Regions from separate parts of the Homo sapiens genome. Here all the other regions are linked to region 1. The links are contacts of gene promoters, found by promoter capture Hi-C in blood cells and fetal thymus (Javierre and others, 2016). All regions are on one chromosome and are shown on one strand. Each heading gives the region's core, a stretch centred on a gene start or on the middle of the fragment in contact. The rest is flanking DNA. Distances are from core to core; before and after follow the strand shown. Region 1 holds the start of CD1C (CD1c molecule). Region 2 has its middle 32 kb from the start of OR6Y1. Region 3 has its middle 29 kb from the start of OR10R2. Region 4 overlaps LOC107985213 (a long non-coding RNA gene).

Region 1 (4,935 bases), core at 1,243-3,742:
GCAGTACTTGAATAGAAAAATCTTAGAGGAAGGGGCTGAAACTACTGACCTTGCCTGTGTACATACATCTTCCCTGCATCCAGGAGACCCAAGAGAAATCGGGGGCAAGTGCTTCTTATGAGATTATACACTGTTTCTGTGACGCCTTCATACTGATGATTGAGTAGATGACAGACACTTTGGGCCAAACTTCCACAGCCTGGAGATGGCACCCATGTTGTATTCTGGAAACTCAGTAAATCTAATCCGTTGAAAGCTACCTGAAAGAAGCCTTCTGGGCTCTTTCCAGAATGCAGCTCACAGCCCGCTTTCACCTGTACTTCAAAGGGATCTGGAGGAAGGGAGGAATGAGAAAAAGAGTTCAAACAAAAAAGTGAAAACAACAGTATAAAAACCTAGGGCTGTATCAGGAAGTGAAGCAAGAAAGTTTTACATGGATGTGAGAGTGAGCCAAAGACATATTTGATCAGAAACAAGAGAGAAAAATTGCTGGGGATAGGGAAGGGGACAATAAGAGATAAATGCCTTGAATTAACAAGAAAAAGTGGCCAAGGAAGATGTGGAAAAATGATAGGTGAGCCACATAATATAGGATAGAGGGTGAAGGGGGAGCCTTTGTGAGGGAGGTAGGAGGATAGCATTCCATGACGCATGAAATTGGTCATAATGGTCATTGAACTGTGGACATAGATCTTTGAAGAAATTGAATGGGGGAATAGATTTTATTTTAAGGGAGTCAAGCACAGAGTGGGACAGCTGTGTATCTCTGGATTGTAGGATACAGAGGGAGACCACAGGTGGAAGATAACAAAGCACAAGAAAAAAAATTCCAAAAATAGCAAGAGCCTAGGAAATTTGAGGGAGTCAACATCAGGAATATCCCTTAAAAGGTTCATCTATGCAGAATTTTATGGTGGGATGGGATAATGGGAAATGGCCCAAAAATTAGTAGAGAATATTTCCCTGAAATAGAACATTCTAAAGAACTCCCATAATTTAGATGATTGAACTTACATTTCGAGTAATCTTGACTTGCATGGTCTTGAATCTCCCGAGTTAATCCAAAGAGGTAGAAACGAAATAACAACTCTAGGTCTGACAACTCTTCATTGCTGAAGTTGCCCTTGGACCAGTTATGCAGGAAAATTATTGTGCCTGATTCACTGTCCCAGCCATGAGTCTGCAACTCGTCCAGCCATCCTGAGCCCTGACCTCGTGCCCAGGATTGGTTGACAAATGAGAAGATCTGGATGACATGGAAGGAGACGTGTTCCTGGGATGCTTTTGGTGGAAGAAGGGCAAGTAGTGTAAGGAAAAAAAAAAAAAGAGAGGCAAGGAAAATGGAGAGAAAATGGAAGGTGAACCAGTTACCACAGAGAAACATTAATGACTACTTTAGCTATACCATTTTCCTTACACAGAGCCCCATGCTCTGCCACCATCCTCTAAAAGAGTAAACTGGACCTGGAGAGAGGTATGCTCAAATGGCAACCATTCTGGCTTCTTCATTGATCCATCTTGGGAAAGCCCATCATGCTCAACCCAGATACATGTAACCTTGCAGCTGACAGAGATGTTCATACTATCTGCATTGTCACCACCGGGGAGGAGAAGAACTAGCAGCGGAAACTACAGAAACAGCATGTCATTTGCAGTTGTTTCCTTCTCTCAGAAAAGCCATTTGCTGATCTCTGTTCTTAGCAAACTTATCCCTCTACATCTATATTCTGACTTCCTTCTACCAACAGACAATCTTCCCCATCAGCCACTGACAGCAACTAAGACAATCTGCTTCCCTTAACCTTAGGCCTCCTACTCAATCTCTCATTTCCCCATCTGCTCTGAACTAAAGTTACTCTCTTCCCTTAGGATTTTAGCTGCTCTCCCACTAAGCTCCATCTTATCTACTTCCCTTCCTCAACTGCCTTAGACAAAGTGGTGCGTGGCATTGAAAGGTTGCTTCATCCCTCTGGACCTTGCGTGTCATTTGTAACATAAAAAGGAGAAACCACATCATTTTCCTGGGCCCTGATTGTTTTAACGGAAAATGGAGAGGAAATGGAAATTGAACCAGTTACCACAGAGAAACATTAATGACTACTTTAGCTATAACATTTTCCTTACACAGAGCCCATGCTCTGCCACCATCCTCCAAAAGAGTAAACTGGACCTGGAGACAGGTATGCTCAGATGGCAAGCATTCTGGCATCTCTATTGATCCATCTCGGGAAAGCCCAGCACACTCTACCCAGATACATGTAACCTTGCAGCTGACAGCGATGTTCTTACCGTCTGCATTGTCACCACCTGGGAGAAGAAGAGCTAGCAGCAGAAACTGCAGAAACAGCATGTCATTTGCAGATGTTTCTTTCTCTCAGAAAAGCTGTTTGCTGATCTCTGTTCTTAGCAAACTTATCCCTCTGTACCTATATTCTGACTTCCTTCTACCAACAATCTTCCCCATCAGCCGCTGACAGCAACTAAGAAGATCTGCTTCCCTCAACCTTGGTCCTCCTACTCAATCTCTCATTTCCCCACCTGCTCTGAACTAAAGTTATTCTCTTCTCTCAGGATTCCAGCTGCTCTGCCACTAAGCTCCATTATATCTACTTCCCTTCCTCAACTGCCTTAGACAAAGTGGTGTATGGCATTGAAAGAAAGGTCATTTTGTCCCTCTGGATTTTGCATGTCATTTGTAAGATAAAAAGGAGAAACCATGTCATTTTTTCAGTTCCTGCTTGTTTTAATAGATCACAGTTCTTCCAGTTTCTCCACTTAACTTTGCCTCCACTCTCCATAGTGTCCCCTCTTCTCATCACTCCATTCTTTCTTTCCCCCTTTTGAATGTCCTCAAAGTTTTCTCTTTCCAATTTCACCTCTTTTCACCCATCTTTCTTATTTCCTCATTCTCACTGATTCTTTTATAAATTGGAGACGTTGCTTTTTACATCTTCCAAGATTTCCCTGCACAATTATATAAACTACAGTCCACTCTACATTATCCTTAGAGATTAAATTGCAGCCATTCAGAATGCATAGGACCATAACAAATATAAAGAAGCCCTTCTACTGCATTTAATCTGTATAGTCATTCACTAAAAAATTACATAGTACATGGTTGATACCAGTGTCTTACTAGGCATATAAACACACAGAGGTTAACAATGTAATCTCTTCTATCAAAGAGTTTTAAACTGCAGATGTTTAAACAAAAAATTAAAATGCATTGTGATTTTAATTTCAATGTATAGAATCCCAGATACAAATCTACTTAGAACTATATTCTCTAGAGCAGCATTTTGACTGACTAACCCCCTGGGAAGTTCATAATTTGAAGTCCTGGAAGAACAGCATGCATCTCAACTAAATACTGAAAATTCTGTACAGTGTGGAATGGTATACGATTGTGATAGTCAGAACATGCAGCTTTTCAAGAGGACTCATACATGGGGAGACCACAAAAATCCAAATTTAAGTTGTTTTGTGATCTGACCAAAACACATTGTATAAAAAGGGCAGCATTTGTCAATGTTTGATTTAAGTAGTTTATATGAAGTATTCAGTGACTTATCAGTGACCCTGGCTGGTTAATATGTGTAAATACATGAACACAGTTTTTTTGAGATCCAGGAAATACATTTATTATTATAGTGTTTCTTAAATCATATTAATTATTCACTGAATGCATTGGAGCAGTCACTTAAAATCTGGGCATGAATTTGTGCTAGGCACAATGACTCATGCCTGTAATCCCAGCACTTTGGGAGACCAAGGTGGGAAGATCACTTGAGCCCAGGAGTTTGAGACCAGCCTGGGCAACAAAGTTAGACCTCATCTCGATAAAAAAATTAAAAAGTTGGCCAAATGTGGTGGCACATGCCTGTAGTCCCAGCTAAATGGGAGGCAGAGGCAGGAAGATCTTTTGAGCCCTGAAAGTCAGGGCTGTAGTGAGCCATGTTCATGTCACTGTACTCCAGCCTGGGTAACAGAGCAAGACCGTGCCTTAAAAAGGAAAATCCCATTTGTAACATTGTTTCTGTTTTAAATTTATATTTATTCTATGTATTTACTGTGTACAACATGATACTTTGATATATACACTATTTCTTAGGTTTGTCAACGTTAATAGTGAGGCCAGAAGTCATTCTCAATGAGCTCTTCCTATCATGGCCACAGATATGTGGCAATTTCTATGAACTATAATATCTTTAAGAGCAATACCCAGTTCAAATCCTACCCAAATCATTCATAAGCACTAGGTGTTATCTTTGCTCATCTTGTGCTGTTAATGGCAAATACTTGGTTTGTGGTTTTAGAAAACAATAGTAGATACCACATTATGTGTTTATTCACATTTTTTTCCATGTTCCTACAGGAAAGATGCAACTGTCCTATTTCCTAATAGTTGGGTTAAGGTCATGGACTGAGTTCTGGGCAATGGAATGTGTGGTGTTGGAAGCATTAGCCAGCTCCAGTCCTGACCACTGAAAATATCACATCTGATCATCTTACCCTGTGGTACCAACTTGGCAGTCAAATTTCTAAATGGCAAGACTATGAGATGGAGAAGAGCAGCCTGATCTACATGCAGTTTAACTGCATGAGAAATAAACTTCATTGTGTTAAGCCTCCAAGTTCTAAAGTTTATTTATAACTGCAACATAACCTAGCTATATTGGATAATATTATAAAACCCAGTAAGTATCATCCTTTTTGCCCTCTTGAATTCAGAAGCAAACAAGTTGAAAATAACATGAGATAGATGGATCTAATGGTCAATCTTGACTTCTGATAGTGCCACTAGATAATTTGCTTTAAGTGTGTAATCCAAGTGATCTTGCTCATACTGGACCCTAAATGGAGTGGCCTTCTCATTGTTATGGACTGAAAGTTTGTGTACCCTCCCAAAGAAAAAAAAAATCACATGTTGAATCC
Region 2 (4,935 bases), core at 1,216-3,715, 230 kb before region 1:
TTGTCACCATCCTTCTTTTCTTCTTCTTCTTCATCAGAACCAACATCTTCAATTTCAGGTTTGTCTTCGGACTCTTTCTCTTCTTTTTCATTTTCTTCTTCTTTATCTTCCTTTTCTTCAGCTTCATCATCTCTGACTTCTTTATCATGTTCCTTCTCCACAAAAAGAGTAATGGGATATCCAATAAACTGAGAATGTTTCTTCAAAAATGTTTTTATTCTTCATTCCTCCAAGTACTCATTTGGTCTTCCTTCAGGTGTAGGATAACCTTTGTTCCACGACCCATAGGTTCACTCGTCTGTCCTCACTGTGAATGATCCCCCTGCTGAGGACTCCCAGGTGTACTGCTCATCATTGTTATGTTTGCTGATCACAGTTACTTTCTTGGCAACCAAATAAGCAGAATAAAAACCAACCCCGAAATGGCCAATCATAGAGATATCTGCATCAGCCTGCAAAGCTTCCATGAATGCTTTGGTCCCAGACTTGGTGACAGTACCGAGGTTATTGATCAAGTCAGTCTTGGTCATTCCAATTCTAGTGTCCACAATAGTGAGGGTTTGATTTTGTTTGTTTGGTACAAGGTTAATATGCAGCCCTTTCCCAGAGTCTAATTTACTGGAATCCATCAACCTTTCATATCAGATTTTGTCCAATGCATCTGATGAATTTGAAATTAGTTCTCTCAGAAAGATCTCTTTCTTCGAGTAGAAAGTATTGATGATCAGTGACATCAACTGGGCAATTTCTGCCTGAAAGGTGAATGTCTCAACCTCCTCCTCCTCCATCGATTTGTCTTGGGTCTCGGTTTCCTCAGGCATCTTGGCTAAGGGACCACAAGGGCTCCACAGCACATCAGTACCAGGATGCTGAAGCACCTCGGCTTTTATTTTTTATTTATTTATTTTTCTTAAAATCCATTCAGCCACTCTGTATCTTTTGACTGGAAAATGTAATTCATTTACATTTAAAGTAATTATTGATAGGTAAAGGATTTACTACCGGCATTTTGATTTTTGCTGACTGCTTTGTAGTTCTTTTATTTCTTTTTTCCAATCTTCCTATCTTTCTTTATAATTTGTTGAATTTTGATAGGTGCACACTTTGATTCATGTCTTTGTTTTTTATGTATCAACTAGAGTTGTTTTTCTACTTGGTTATCATGGGGCTTATATAAAACATCTTATAATTATAACATTCTAATTTAAGCTGCTAACAACTGAAATTGCATACAAAAACTCTACACTTTTACTTCACTCTGCCCACATTTTATGTTATTCATGTCACACTTCACATCTTTCTAGATTGTGTATTCATTGCCAAATTAGAATAGATATAGTTATTTTCAATATTTCTGTGTTTTAAGCTTTTATAATAGAATTTAAAATGATTTACACAGTGCCATTACAGTATTAGATTATTCCAGATTTGACTATTTACTTTTACTAGTGGCTTTTTTAACTATTAACTTCTTAAAAATGTTTCATGTTATCTATTTCTTTATTTTAGAGATGTGATGTCGCTATGTTACACAGGCTGGTCTTACACTCCTGAGGTCAAATGATCCTCCCACCTTGGCTTCCCTAAGTGATGGGATTACAGGCATGAGCCACGGCACCTGGCTTTAACATCTTTTTGTTACAACTTGAAGAACTCTAGTATTTTTTTTTTTTTTTTTTTTTTTTTTTACATTTTACTTTAAGTTCCGGGATACAAGTGCAGAATGTGTAGGTTTGTTACATAAGTATATGTGTGCCATGGTGGTTTGCTGCACCTACCAACCCGTCATCTAAATTTTAAGCCCTGCATGCATTAGCTATTTGTCCTAATGCTCTCCCTCCCTCCCCTTGCCCCCCAACCCCACACGGGCCGTGGTGTGTGTTGTTCCCCTCCCTGTGTCCATGTATCCTCATTGTTCAACTCCTACTTATGAGTGAGAACATGCAATGTTTGGTTTTCCATTCCTGTGTTACCTTTGTCTGAGTATGTCTTTATTTCTGCTTCATTTCTGAGAGAGATTTTTTACGTATAGTATTCTTGGGCAGTTTTTATTTTTTTCTTTCTGCTCTTTGGCTATATCATCCCACACCATCCGGGCATATAAAATTTTTTTTTTTAGGTTTTGTTTTGTTTTTGCCAAGTCTGCTGATATCCTTAAAGGGGTTCCCTTTTAGGTGACAAGTTTCTTTTTACTGCTGCTTTCAAAAGTCTCTTTTTGTGTTTGACTTATAATAAGTTGATTATAATGTGCTTCAGAGTGTTACTGTTGGGGTTGATATTGTTTGGACATTTTGATTTCCATGAAACTGTATTGAGTCTATGTCTCTCCCATGATTTTGGAAGTTTTCAGCCAGTATTTCTTTAAATAAGCTTTATGCCTCTTTATTTGCTTCTTTTTCCTTCTGAGACACCGGTAGTTTATTATTGTTTTTCTAATTTCAATTCATTTTCTATGTGCATTTCCTTGCATTTCTTCAAGATCCTTAAGATGGTTATTTTGAATTCTTTCTCAGGCAATTCCTAGATCTCTATTTCTTTGTGATTTACTACTGAAGCTTTACTAGTTTCTTTTGGTGGTGTCACATTTGCCTAATTCTTCATTATCTGTATAGATTGCATTGATGTCTGCGCATTGATGTCTGAATAAACATCTTTTCTGGCATTTAAACACTGCTTTTGGCAGATAAAAGCTTTCTCCTGTTGAGCCTCTATGCTGGTGAGATTGCCCCCAGGATCCTAGTAAAGTGGGTTTCGAGCTAGATCATGTGGCTGCCTCTTCATCTACAATGGGATCTGTGCTTAATAGACCTGTTACCAGGGCCTCCAGTGGGTATGGATTCTGTCTGGTTCCCCCCGGGTGGACTGAATTACCTCCAGTACATTGGGCAGTAGGGTTGGTGCTAGAATGAGGATCCATTTCAGAGTCCACAGATGGTAGGCCTGTTACTAGGTTTGTGGATGGGTATGGTTTCCTCCAGGTCTTTGGGAGAGCTCCCATTAAGTGACTGGGTAGGTCCCTTTGCAGGCAGTACTTGTCCTGGCCTACAGTTGAGAGGAGATGAATATAAGTCACAGGGCTGCAGTAAAGACAAAGATCTGCAGGCCTGCCTCTGAGGTCAAGGTTTGGTGTATCCCCCATTTGGTCCCTGGTCAGGCAAAACTGCCCTCAGACCACACCTGAGAGGGGATGAATCCAAGTTACAAGGCTGTGTCAGGATCCTCTGTGAGACTGATGGCAGCAGGTCTGCCTCTGAGGGTCATAGACAAGCTCGTCCTTCTCTTGGTTCTTGAATGGACAAGCCTACTCTCAGACCACAGCTATTAATGCCTGGAGTTGAGTTTCAGAGCCATTTCAAGTTCCACACCTGGGACCGAGGTCAACAAGCTTGTTTTCTGAAGCACTAGTATATGTGACTCCTCCTGGGCTCCTTGACTGATGGCAAAATAAGGCTGTATCCAAGTCCACAATAAAACAAGGCCATTGCTAAGTCTAGAGCTGAGACCACTGTTGGCAGGTCTGCCCCCTCAAAATGGCTTTCCTACATCTTGATCTTCACTAGGGTTTCACAATCTCCTATCTAAATCTCAAGGCTCCCACAAAGAGGTATTTTCCCATTGATGGCTGTGAACTTATTGCTGCTGTCAAGGAATGTAAGCAGTGGGCTTTCTGTTTCACCATCTTTCTCTCCTTTTGTCTCTCACTATTTTTAAAATTTTCTTTTTATCATTAGTTTTTAATAATTGAATTCTTATATTCTTATATGTTCTAGCATAATTTTGGTTTTTATTCTGCTTGAAATTTCTGACATTTTTGGGTTTGGGGGTTTATAAGGGATCTCAATTACATGAATATTTGACAGCTTGGCACTTTACCGTAGTCATCAAGCCTCTGTTTTTGTTTTGTTGTTGTTGTCGTTATTTGGGGTTTTTGAAGTTTTGCTATAATTACAGGTTGTTTTGTTGGCTATGTGTTTAAGTTAATTGACCTTTTCTTTGGCAGTGTCTGCAGCTAATCCTGCTTAATGTATTTTTAAAATTCAGATAATATTTTTTATTTCTATTAATTATACTTGATGGCTGTTGGGAATATAAACTCTTCTTTGTGTGAACTCTAGGACTTGTTTAGTCTATTGCTTCCAGTAGTTGTTCATCTTCTACAAGAAGTTTACTCTAACAAATGTACGAATTAGCACTCTTCCAAAGATTTGAGGAGATCCCTTTGCAGCTATTAGACCTCCCTATGTGTGTGCTAATCCCTTCTCTTTAGTTATCTGTCTTGAAATGGCCCCTTTGTCTTCTCTATACTCTAATCTTTATCTAATCTAGTCTCCTTAATACTCTATGTAATCTAGTCTTCTCTATAATCTTTATCTAATCTAATCCTTAATTCAGTAAGACTACTTGATATATTTTGGTGTCCTCTGCTGCCTCTCTCTCTTTTTCTCTCTCTTTCTATATATAAACACATAAATATACATACATGTATATACACATATAGAGCTTGTATTATTCCATCAGTTATGTCTCAGTATTATCCAGTATTATCTTGGTGTTATTATATTTTTAAATATAAGAAGCATATAAATTTCTATTTAAAATACTTTAACATATTTTTTCTCACTCCATCATGGTCACACAATGTCCAGTACTAAAGTCCTATGGAATTACTTATGTTCAACTGGATAATACTGAGACATAAGTGTTGGAATAATTCCAGCTGAAGTTAATCATGGGCTGTTTTTTCTCTTTCACTCTCTTAACTCCCATTTCCATCTTCAGTTTTTCTTTAGAACTAAAATTAGGATTGTCTAGAGTCTGTTACAGGATCCACATTTCTTTGCTTTGTACTCTTCAAATACTTTTTAAGTCATAACATGTGGAAATCATTTATTTCTCTTTTCTCAAGAATAACAGTCTTATTCTGTCTCTTGTCTA
Region 3 (4,935 bases), core at 991-3,490, 210 kb before region 1:
AGATAAACAAATTCTAGAAACCAACTGTACAACATTGTGATTTGATATAGTCTGAATATTTGTTTCCACCTAAATCTCATGTTGAATTATAAATCCCCAATGCTGGAAGTGGGACCTGGTGGGAGGTGTTTGGATCATGGGGATGAGTCCCTCATAGCTTGGTACTTTCTTTGTGATAGTGAGGTGAGTTCTCAAAAGATATGGTCAGTTTAAAGTGTTGCACTTTCCCTTCCACTCTGTCTCTCTCTTGCTCCTGCTCTGGCCAAGTGATGTGCCTGCTCCCACTACCTTTTGCCATGATTGAAAGCTCCTTGAGGCTTTACCAGAAGCTAAGCAGTTGCCAGCACCATGCTTTCTGTAAAGTTTGCAGAACCATGGGCCAATTAAACCTCTTTTCTTTATAAATTACCCAGTCTCAGGTATTTCTTTATAGCAAGGCAAGAATGGGATAACACAAGAAATTGGTACAGAGGAGTGGGGTATTACAATAAAGATATCTGAAAGTGTAGAAGCAGCTTTGGAACTGGGTAATGGGCATAGAATGGAAGAGTTTGAGGGCTCAAAAGAAGACGGAAGTTGAGGTTTAGTTTAGAACTTCTTAGAGACTGGTAAAATGGTTGTAACCCAAATGCTGACGTGTGATATAGACAGTGAAGTCCAGACTGAGGAGGCCTCAGATGGAAATGAGGAACATACTGGGAACTGAAGTAAAGGTCACTTTTGATATGCCTTAGCAAAGAACTTGGCTGCCTTCTGTTCATGCCCTAGGGATCTGCGGAAGTTAAAGTTTTGAAATGATAATTTAGGGTATCTGATGAAGGAAATTTCTAAGCAGCCAAGCATTCAAGATGTGGCCTGGCTGCTTCTAACAACCTAACTCAGATGTGGGCACAAAGGAATACCTTAAAGCTGAAACTTATATTTAAAAGGAAAGTAGAGAATAAAAGTTTGAGAAATCTGCAGCCTGGCAATGTGGCAAAGGAAGAAAAAGCTCTTGAGGGGAGAAGAATTCAAGCAGGTTGTGGAACAACCACTTTACTAAAGAAATTTGCATACTTAAGTGGGTCAGGCGTGGTGGCTCACGCCTGTAATCCCAGCACTTTGGGAGGCTGAGGTGGACGGATCACAAGGTCAGTAGATCGAGACTGTCCTGGCTAACATGGTGAAACCCCATCTCTACTAAAAATACAAAAAAAAAATTAGCTGGGTGCGGTGGTGGGCGCCTGTAGTCCCAGCTACTCTGGCTGAGGCGGGAGAATGGCGTGAACCTGGGAGGCATAGCTTGCAGTGAGCCGAGATCATGCCACTGCACTCCAGCCTGGGTGACAGAGCAAGACTCCATCTCAAAAAAAAAAAAAAAAAAAGAAAAAAAAAGAAATTTGCATACCTATGAAGGAGCCAAGTGCTGATAGTCAAGACAATGGGGGAAAAGCCTTGAAGGCATCTCAGAGACCTCTGTGGCAGCCCCTTCCATTAAAGGCCCAGAATCCCTACTGCCACACACACAGCTTCATGACACTGCTCCCTGCATCCTGCTGCTCCAGCTTCAACTGGGGCTCAAAGGGGCCCAGGTACTGCTCAACATGCTACTTTGGAGAGTTCAAGCCACTGTAAGCCTTGGCAATTTGCACATGATTTTAAGCCTGTAGGCACACAGAGTTCAGAGTGAATGAGAATTTGCACCATCTGCCTAGATTTCAGAGGACATATGGAAAAGCCTGAGTGCCCAGACAGAGGCCTGCTGCAGGGGTGGGGAACCCCACAGGGAACCTCTACTATGGCAATGCAGAGGGGAAATGTGGGTTTGCCCCCCGCCCCAGAGTTCCCACTGGGGCACTGCCTAGTGGAGCTGTGAGAAGGGGACCGCCATCCTCCAGACCCCAGAAAGGAAGATCCACTGTCAGCTTGCCCTCTGCACCTGGAAAAGCCAAGAACACTCAACACCAACCCGTGGAAACAGCCATGGGTATTCAACCCTGCAAAGCCATAGGGATACAGCTGCCCTAAGCCTTGAGAGCCATGACTGACACCTCTCTGAGGAGCTTGCAGCAGTGTGACCTGGATGTAGAATATGGAGTCAAAGGATATTATTTTGGAGCTTTAAGATTTAATGACTGCCCTCCTGGCTTTAGGACTTGCTTGGGGCCTATAGCCCCTATTTTTTTGGCCAATTTCTTTCTTTTAGGATAGCAACGTTTACCCAATACCTGTATCCCTATTGTATCTTGGAAGTAAATAACTTGGTTTTGATTTTATAGGTTCATGAATGAAAGGGACTTTCCTTGTCAAAGATGAGACTCTGGACTTCGGACTTGTGAGTTAACACTGGAACAAGTTAAAACTTTGGAGGACTCTTAGGAAGGCATAAATATATTTTGCAATGTGAGAAGGACATAGATTTGGGAGGAGCCGGAGAAATATTGATATAGTTTGGATATTTGTCCCCACACAAATCTTACGTTGAATTGTAATCACCAGTGCTGAAGGTGGGAGGTGTTTCGGTCATGGGGGTGAACTTCGCATGACTTGGTCTATTTTTATGATAGTGAGTAAGTTCTCACAAGATCTTGCCATTTCAAAATTTGCAGCACCTTCCCCCAACTCTCTCTCTCCTGTTCTGGTCATGTGATGTGCCCGCTCCTGCTTCACCTTCCACCATGATTGAAAGTTCCCTGAGCCTTCACCAGAAGCCAAGTGGATGCCAGCACCATGCTTCCTGTAAATTCTGCAAATCATGAGCCAACAAAACCACTTTTCTTTATAAATTACCCAATCTCAGGTATTTCTTTATAGCAATGCAAGAATGGCATAATATATGATTACAGTTACCAATACCTTTTGATCAGGGGGTGGATTCATGTTAAATGTTCTTATCACACACAAAAAAAGTCAGTGTTGACCTAGTTGAAAAACTAGCTTATTTGTGACTCATGCTATATTAAAAAACAACTACTGAATAAATCAAGAGTGCTATTGTTTTTTCTGAGTGAAATTGTAATTGACCTATGTAACCCTTGTTTCAAATGTCCTTGTTAGAATTTTCAGAAAAATTTTAGTGGAGTATATTTTATAAACATCTCCTGACATTAACATAATTCTAGGGCTCATAGGGATGAATAAATCTAAATTCTGTCAAAATTTTAAAAAGAAAGAAAATTAAGAATGTAATTGCCTTTTAGCTCCAAATCTACCTTTACTTGTCCTGATTGTGTTACTGGAATGTTTCTCCTTTACCAGCAGACATGATGTTAAGCTCTTCTGTAGAAGGCGTGAAGGGACACTGAAGTTAAAACGGAGTTCTCTTCCCATTTCTGGCTGCTTTCATCTGCCTGGACATGCTGTGTGTGTGAAGTCTAGTAACAAGTAGGACGCCCAGTAGTGCTACTTCCCAGGCAGTACCATCATCAAAGGTATTTTGCCAGAAGGTTGCAAACAGAAGCATCCTCCCATAGATGCCCCCCACCCACAGAGTACTTCAGAGAGTGGTTTTCCAGCAAGTTCTAAAGTATAGCTCTTCCTTATGGATGGCTTCCCATGAGGACTAAGAGGGCAGAATCCAGAAGGCATTACATTGATTTCAAGAAATGTTTATTAAGCTATACTTTTAGTATTAGTATAAAGATGAACAAATAGATTAATGGAACAAAACAGAACACTCAGAAATAGAAACACATATGTATAATTAATTTTCTACAAAGCCTCAAGGCAATTTAATGGTAGAAGAATACTCTTTCCAATAATAATGCATTTGGATAGAAAAGAATCTTGAAATTTTTTCACACCATTTACAAAAATTAACTAGAGATGAATCACATCCTGCTTGTAAGAACTAATATTATTAAAAAGAACATTAGATAGAACCTTAGTGAGCTTGAATTTTTCAGAAACTTATTAAGTATGACAGAAAACACTTGAACTATAAAAGTCAAAGTCAATAAGTTGGACTTTATCAAAACCAAAGGAAACTTCTGCTCTTCAAAAGACATGGTAGAAAATTAAAAGCAAGTTACAATATAGTGAAAATATTTGCGTAATATACAAGTAACAAAAATATATATACCTGGAAAACATAAAGAACTCTTACATTTCAATTATGAAGACAAAGGAACTAATTAAAATATTGGAAAGAAGAAAATATGCCTCTAACTGAGGAATGGACAAAAGATCTGAAAAGACGCTCAACTAAAAAATATGTAGATGACCAATATACACACAAAAAAATATATTCAGTGTCTTCAGTCATCAAAAAAAACTTTTAATTCTAACCACAATTGGATACTATTATGCATCTACTTAATGTATGAAATTAAGACTAACACATTTTGTTGAGAATGTTAAGCAACTGGTAACTGTCATACGTTTCTGTTGAGAGTGTAAGAAAATAAAACCATTGTGTATATATACACAATGGTACAAAAAGAATGAACTGCGAAGTCACACACATAACGGATAAACCTCAAAAGTATGCTTAGTGATAAGAAGTTAGAAAGCAAATTGTTATTTTATTTTGATAAGATTCTTTATTGTCAAACTAAATTCTGGCAATAGAAAGCAAATCATTGGTTTCCTGCGGCTGATGGTGGTATAGGGGACACAATGGGATGGGGCATGTGAGAAAATTTAGGGGTAATGGAAATGTTCTATATCTTTTTTCATTTTCAATATCATTTTTATAATAAATTGCCTTGAGAGCCTTGTAGAAAATTAACTATACATATGTGTTTCTATTTCTGAATGTTCTGTTTTGTTCCATTAATCTATTTATTCATCTTTATACTAATATAAATGGTATTTTAAAGTGTAGCTTAATAAATATTTCTTGATTTTTTTTAAGTATTTTAAAACAAATACAGGCTGGATATTCTGTTGTACAACTTTTAACGCATTTGAAATCAGCAGAAAAGTTGCTTTGGGTAAGTCTGGGATTAAAGATTT
Region 4 (4,935 bases), core at 1,161-3,660, 190 kb before region 1:
AACATTTGTTAAAATATACATCAATGAAACTATCTCCTTTGAATTTCCCTACATAGTGCCTCTAGAGTTTCGTTCTGAAGTTGAAGAAAAGTATTCTTTTTTATGCTGCTACACATTCCTATTTCTGAAAGCTAAAAGAGAAGAAGATATAAAGAATAGAGGACAGAATATTAGAATGGCAGAATCTTTCAGATACATTAGAAACAGGTTTGCTTCTGGAATATAATGTGAATTTGGTAAATATTTCCTCAGTATATGAATACAGTTTGGGTTATAGAGAAAAGTGTGACAATGCCTTCATGTAGGTTTTCACAAAGCCCATCAGCTTTCTCCCCATTTCAGCTCACATATCGATTCTTTCTGACAGTGAGTCCATCCACTTGGGCTGGAAATGGGTCAAATGCTAGACATGCATGGACGTCTCTCTAAGGTGCTCACGTGAACTGCTCTCGTATAAGTCATGTCCCGCATGTTCTCACTTATAAGTCAGAGCTGAACAATGAGAATACATGGACACAGGGAGGGAAATAACACATACTGGGGCCTATGGTTGAGGGGCAGGGGAAGGGAGAGCATCAGGATAAATAGCTAATGCAGCTGGGCTTAATACCTAGGCGATGAGTTGATAGGTGCAGCACACCACCATGACACATGTTTACCTATGTAACAAACCTGCACATCCTGCACATGGATCCCAGAACTTTAAATTAAATTAATTTTTTTTAAAAAAAGATGCTGCAGCAATGAGAAAACAAGAGAAAAGCCCAAGTGATTAACCCAGACAGGAACTTTTGGTGGCTTCCTCCTTCCCCTGAATCCAGATAGGAAGAGTGACTACTTTGACAAATAAATTATAGTAAATGTAAGACTGTATCCGTTTATTAACCCTAGTCTCTAAAGTCTTGTAGCTGCTACTTATGGAGTGTTGAATCATCTACTTTTGTACCCTAGTAACCATGTTTTGAGGAAGCCCAAACAGCCCTTGGAGAATCTATATGGTAAAAAACCAAGGCTCCTGGCCAATAGCCCCAGCTGAGCAAACAACCAATAGCTAACACGAATAAAACAGGCACATAAGTGAGCAATCTTGAAAGTAAATCCTTCAGCCCCAATTGAATCATCCAACCTGCTGGGACAAAGAACAAATTCCAGCTGTCCCCACTGAGCCCTGCCAAAATTGCAGACTTGTGTGCAAAATAATTACAGCTCATTTAAGCAACTAAAGTTGTAGAGAGTTGATTATGCAGCAGTAAATAATGAGAACAGAATTTGGTATCTAAAGGCAGGGTGCTGTTATAATCAACATTTAAAACATTTGGCATTAATTTTGCAATTGGTGGTATAAATAATCCATAAGGACTTAAGGAGTCTCTTACTAAAAGGTGAAAGGATCATAAGGCAACTCTTGGTAAAGCTTTGAAGCACAGAGAGAAAAATATTTGAAGGACAGAGAGGAAACTGTTATCATACTTAGGTAAAACATGGATACTTATTATCCATTGCTCTAAAGTTTGGCAGCAGGACCACATGCTACAGCCTGGAAAATAGACTATTTAGTAATCTCATTATCTTCCTGGGTAAATTTCTAGGAAGACTATAGAAAATTCCAACCAATGATAAAATATGAAAAGAGAGTAGACAGCAGGATACTAGAGGAAGGGAATAGTAGAGAAAAGGGAAGGATAGGTGGAGATTTGCTAAAGGATACAAAATTACAGCTAGATAAAGGAATAAGTTACAGTGTTCTTTGCTACTGTAGGATGACTATAGTTAACAGTAATGTATAGATTCAAATTGCCAGAAGGAGGGTGTTGAACATTCCCAACATGAAGAAATGATAAATGTTTGAGATGATGATATGCTAATTACCTTGATCTGATCCCTATAACATTATTTATATCAGAATATTACTATGCACCTAAGGAATATGAACAATGACTATTTGTCAATTTAAAAGTACATAATTTTTTAAAGTTTCTTAAGTTTCTGAGAATTTAGAGGAAACAGAAAGAAACAAAACTTGTTGGGTTTGCAAATAAAGATGTTTCTCATGCACAGTCTCTCTCAACAAAGACTCTCAAGGTACAAAATGGCTTCAAGGAAGAAATCAAATCCAAGGTGCTATCAGGAAACCAATGCCTCAGGGTAAACCTCTTAAGAATGTAGCTGTAATACTTTTTGTTAGAACTCAGAAATATTTTAGGCTATACCCAACAAGATTTATAAATATCCTAAGGGCCTGACTCCTTAAAGTTAAGCAATAAGTCTTTTTAAGAATCTTAAGGGAATTGCCATACAGCAGTTATTAATACTGCTACCTCACAAGTGACCCATAATAAAGAAATGAATATGGATGTGACTTTTATCTAATGGAATTAATTTATAAACTGAAACATAAGAAACTCACCAAGTTTTAAAAAGGCATTCTATCAACATGTGCTAAAGGCTACAGAGCAAACAGAAATGAATAGACCTTTGGACCCTCAACTTCTTCCATGGAGGTATCAGACTAAGAAATGACATGTCTGCAAATTGTAGCTATGTCTTGCAGATAAAAAAGGATGATCAGAAAGTGGGGAAATGGCATCACAGGTTAGATCTAAGAGTCATGGAATTCATTCCCAGAAAATAGGACTGGCAACAGTGTCCAGATGAATTTCAGAATTTCTATGGACCAATGACTGTGATGTGTCTAATTTCCTCCTTTTTCACAAGGGAATGTCCATTGCTATTCCTATGCCCATCACATCATTGTCTTTTTGGGTGTCAGGAGCAGACAACCTGCTGGTATTATGCCTTAAAAGACTAGCAGCTTCCTCTTTCTGTTTCTTGGAATGTTTAGTCTTTGAAACCAGTCATGATGTTGTGAGAAAGTTTATAGAACCCCATGAAAAGGGCCACATGGAGAGATACTGACTCTCACAACCTATAGCCCTGACTCAGCTCCACTACAAATCAGCATCATTTTGCCAGCCGTGTAAATGAGCCAAATGGAAGTGGGTCCCTCAATTCTAGTTGAGCAGCTCAGTTGACATTGTATGGAGTTAAGACAAGCCAATCTTATAAGCCCTCTCCCATTTAAGAGATTAATGAGCAAAATAAATTATCATTGTCATTGTTATTTTTAATTACTGTTATGGGGGACATAAATATTGCTACACTTTCACATGTAGTTTCAGATGTTTTTCTTAGCTAGACCAAGAAGTCATTTATTCAATTAAAGTTAAGAGACATGTATTAGTTATCTCCTGAATGTCAGGGATATAAAAGACATTTAGGAGGAGTTAATGTATCGGTATAATAAATTACTTCCTTTCACGTTGTTGATTGTCCATTAGAGAAAATAAGATATGTACATAATCAGCTCAATATGTCAGAGCTCAGTAAGAAGTATAAGTAAAGCTTACAATGCTATGGTGTTTTGAAGAATGGAAATCAGGTAATACTTCATGAAACAGGTGAAAATAAAAAAAACTTTGATGGTAGACATTGGACAAAGAAGGAGATAATCTTTTCAAATAAGACCTTTTTTGATTCTTAGGCCGGTACAGGACCATTCTCCATAGGATCCCACTTTATAAGCTGTAAGTAAAGAAATGTGGTGCACAGAATGGCAAATTTATGTTTATCTTCTACTGCCTTTTTAATTAATGATGGCTATAGTATGATGATGGCAAACAAGGCCATTTTGTCACTGCAAATTATTTTCCTGTAGAAGTATTATTCTACTGTTTATTATTATAATATCTTTTAAACATAATTTTAACTCTTTCTTGTTTCTACTAATAAAAAAAGGAATTCAAGAGACCTATATGCCAGGATGGTAGGAAACTAGAGCCATATAGTAAGATAGAAAAAAATGTTTTGAATCACATTCATGTCGGCATGCTGCAGAAAATATTCTATACATTAGTGTTGGACACAAAAATCAGCTACTTTTCATGAAAGTTGATCAAGATGTTAAGTGTAGTTTATTTCTGAAACTTCCTGCTTACTTTTCATTTCTTTTCACAGTATAGAATTTAGTTTTCCTAATGTATACATATTCTGTATTTAAAAACCTCAAATGTTAGACTGCACAGTACCTTCTCCTAAATTTTTAACGAATGTGACATAAAATAGCAATACTCTAGTTAATTGAATATGCTATCTTGACCAGGATAGTTTCTCTGCCTACCTTGCGGTAAATTTTTCTGAAATTTGATATTAAAAAGGAAATTAAATCCATTAAAGGGATCTAGAAGATAGCAGCAGGGATGTCTATTAATCTATCCTGCTGTTATAATAAAATTATAAAACATGTAAACTCTGTGACATGATGATATAAATAACCTTTCAATCAGGTAAAAAAAAGTTACAACAAATTGTTAAAAGTAAAAAAGAAAAGGTGAAATGATGAAAGCAAATTTAAATAGATTATATGACTTTGGCCATGAACAAGTACTCCCATGAATTGGATTTAGGGATGGACTTTGTATACTATGTAAACTCCTCAGATTGTAAGCAAGTTTTTTTTTTCCTGTATATGTGCATGAGGAGAGTTTCATGCATTAGATACATAGCTTTCAACAGATTCTCAAAAAACCATGTGCTGCAAAATGTGATCTAGAGTGATTAAGGTGACTATTTACGGCTATACCACTGGTCAGGCCAACTACTTGACTCTGTATACAGATGGTAACTTTATGAACTAAATATTTACCAATAAACACCATCATAACACCTTAAACTATAGGAAAAACATGCAGCAATGTCATAAAAGGCAGTTTTTCTTAGTTTCAGTTGAGGCACAAAAGCTGAGAGAATAAAATATGTGAACTGCTCTTAAAAAATAAAAATTTTGAGAAAAAAGGGGTGGAAATATAATCTTTGGAGGAAGCTCTTGACTTTCTTAATGTTTTATCTCTCCCCAAGAGTAGAAAACTGCTTCAAGAT

What was found. Contacts are between HindIII fragments. The CHiCAGO score rates a contact against its expected background, and 5 or more counts as called.
Region 2: a fragment that was not itself captured here is called in contact with the fragment with the promoter of CD1C in region 1 in 1 of 17 cell types (fetal thymus); the score reaches 5.8 in fetal thymus.
Region 3: a contact is called between a fragment that was not itself captured here and the fragment with the promoter of CD1C in region 1, in 1 of 17 cell types (fetal thymus). The highest score is 5.1, in fetal thymus.
Region 4: a fragment that was not itself captured here is called in contact with the fragment with the promoter of CD1C in region 1 in 2 of 17 cell types (fetal thymus and M1 macrophages); the score reaches 12.8 in fetal thymus.

The regions. Positions count from the first base shown.
Region 1 is chr1:158,287,480-158,292,414 of GRCh38, reverse strand. It overlaps CD1C (CD1c molecule), which reads right to left and starts at 2,492. Exons shown (of 6, transcript NM_001765.3): 1 at 2,290-2,492; 2 at 1,015-1,281; 3 at 50-331. The coding sequence starts at 2,350. It also overlaps a transcript of CD1B not described here. The HindIII fragment of the contact is 9,220 bases long and covers 1-4,935 here.
Region 2 is chr1:158,519,558-158,524,492 of GRCh38, reverse strand. It overlaps the pseudogene HSP90AA3P. Among named protein-coding and RNA genes, the nearest start is that of OR6Y1, 32 kb to the left of the region's middle. The HindIII fragment of the contact is 185 bases long and covers 2,373-2,557 here.
Region 3 is chr1:158,498,331-158,503,265 of GRCh38, reverse strand. No RefSeq gene overlaps it. Among named protein-coding and RNA genes, the nearest start is that of OR10R2, 29 kb to the right of the region's middle. The HindIII fragment of the contact is 6,418 bases long and covers 1-4,935 here.
Region 4 is chr1:158,481,782-158,486,716 of GRCh38, reverse strand. The region is part of intron 2 of LOC107985213 (a long non-coding RNA gene); the gene reads left to right. Among named protein-coding and RNA genes, the nearest start is that of OR10R2, 12 kb to the right of the region's middle. The HindIII fragment of the contact is 1,988 bases long and covers 1,417-3,404 here.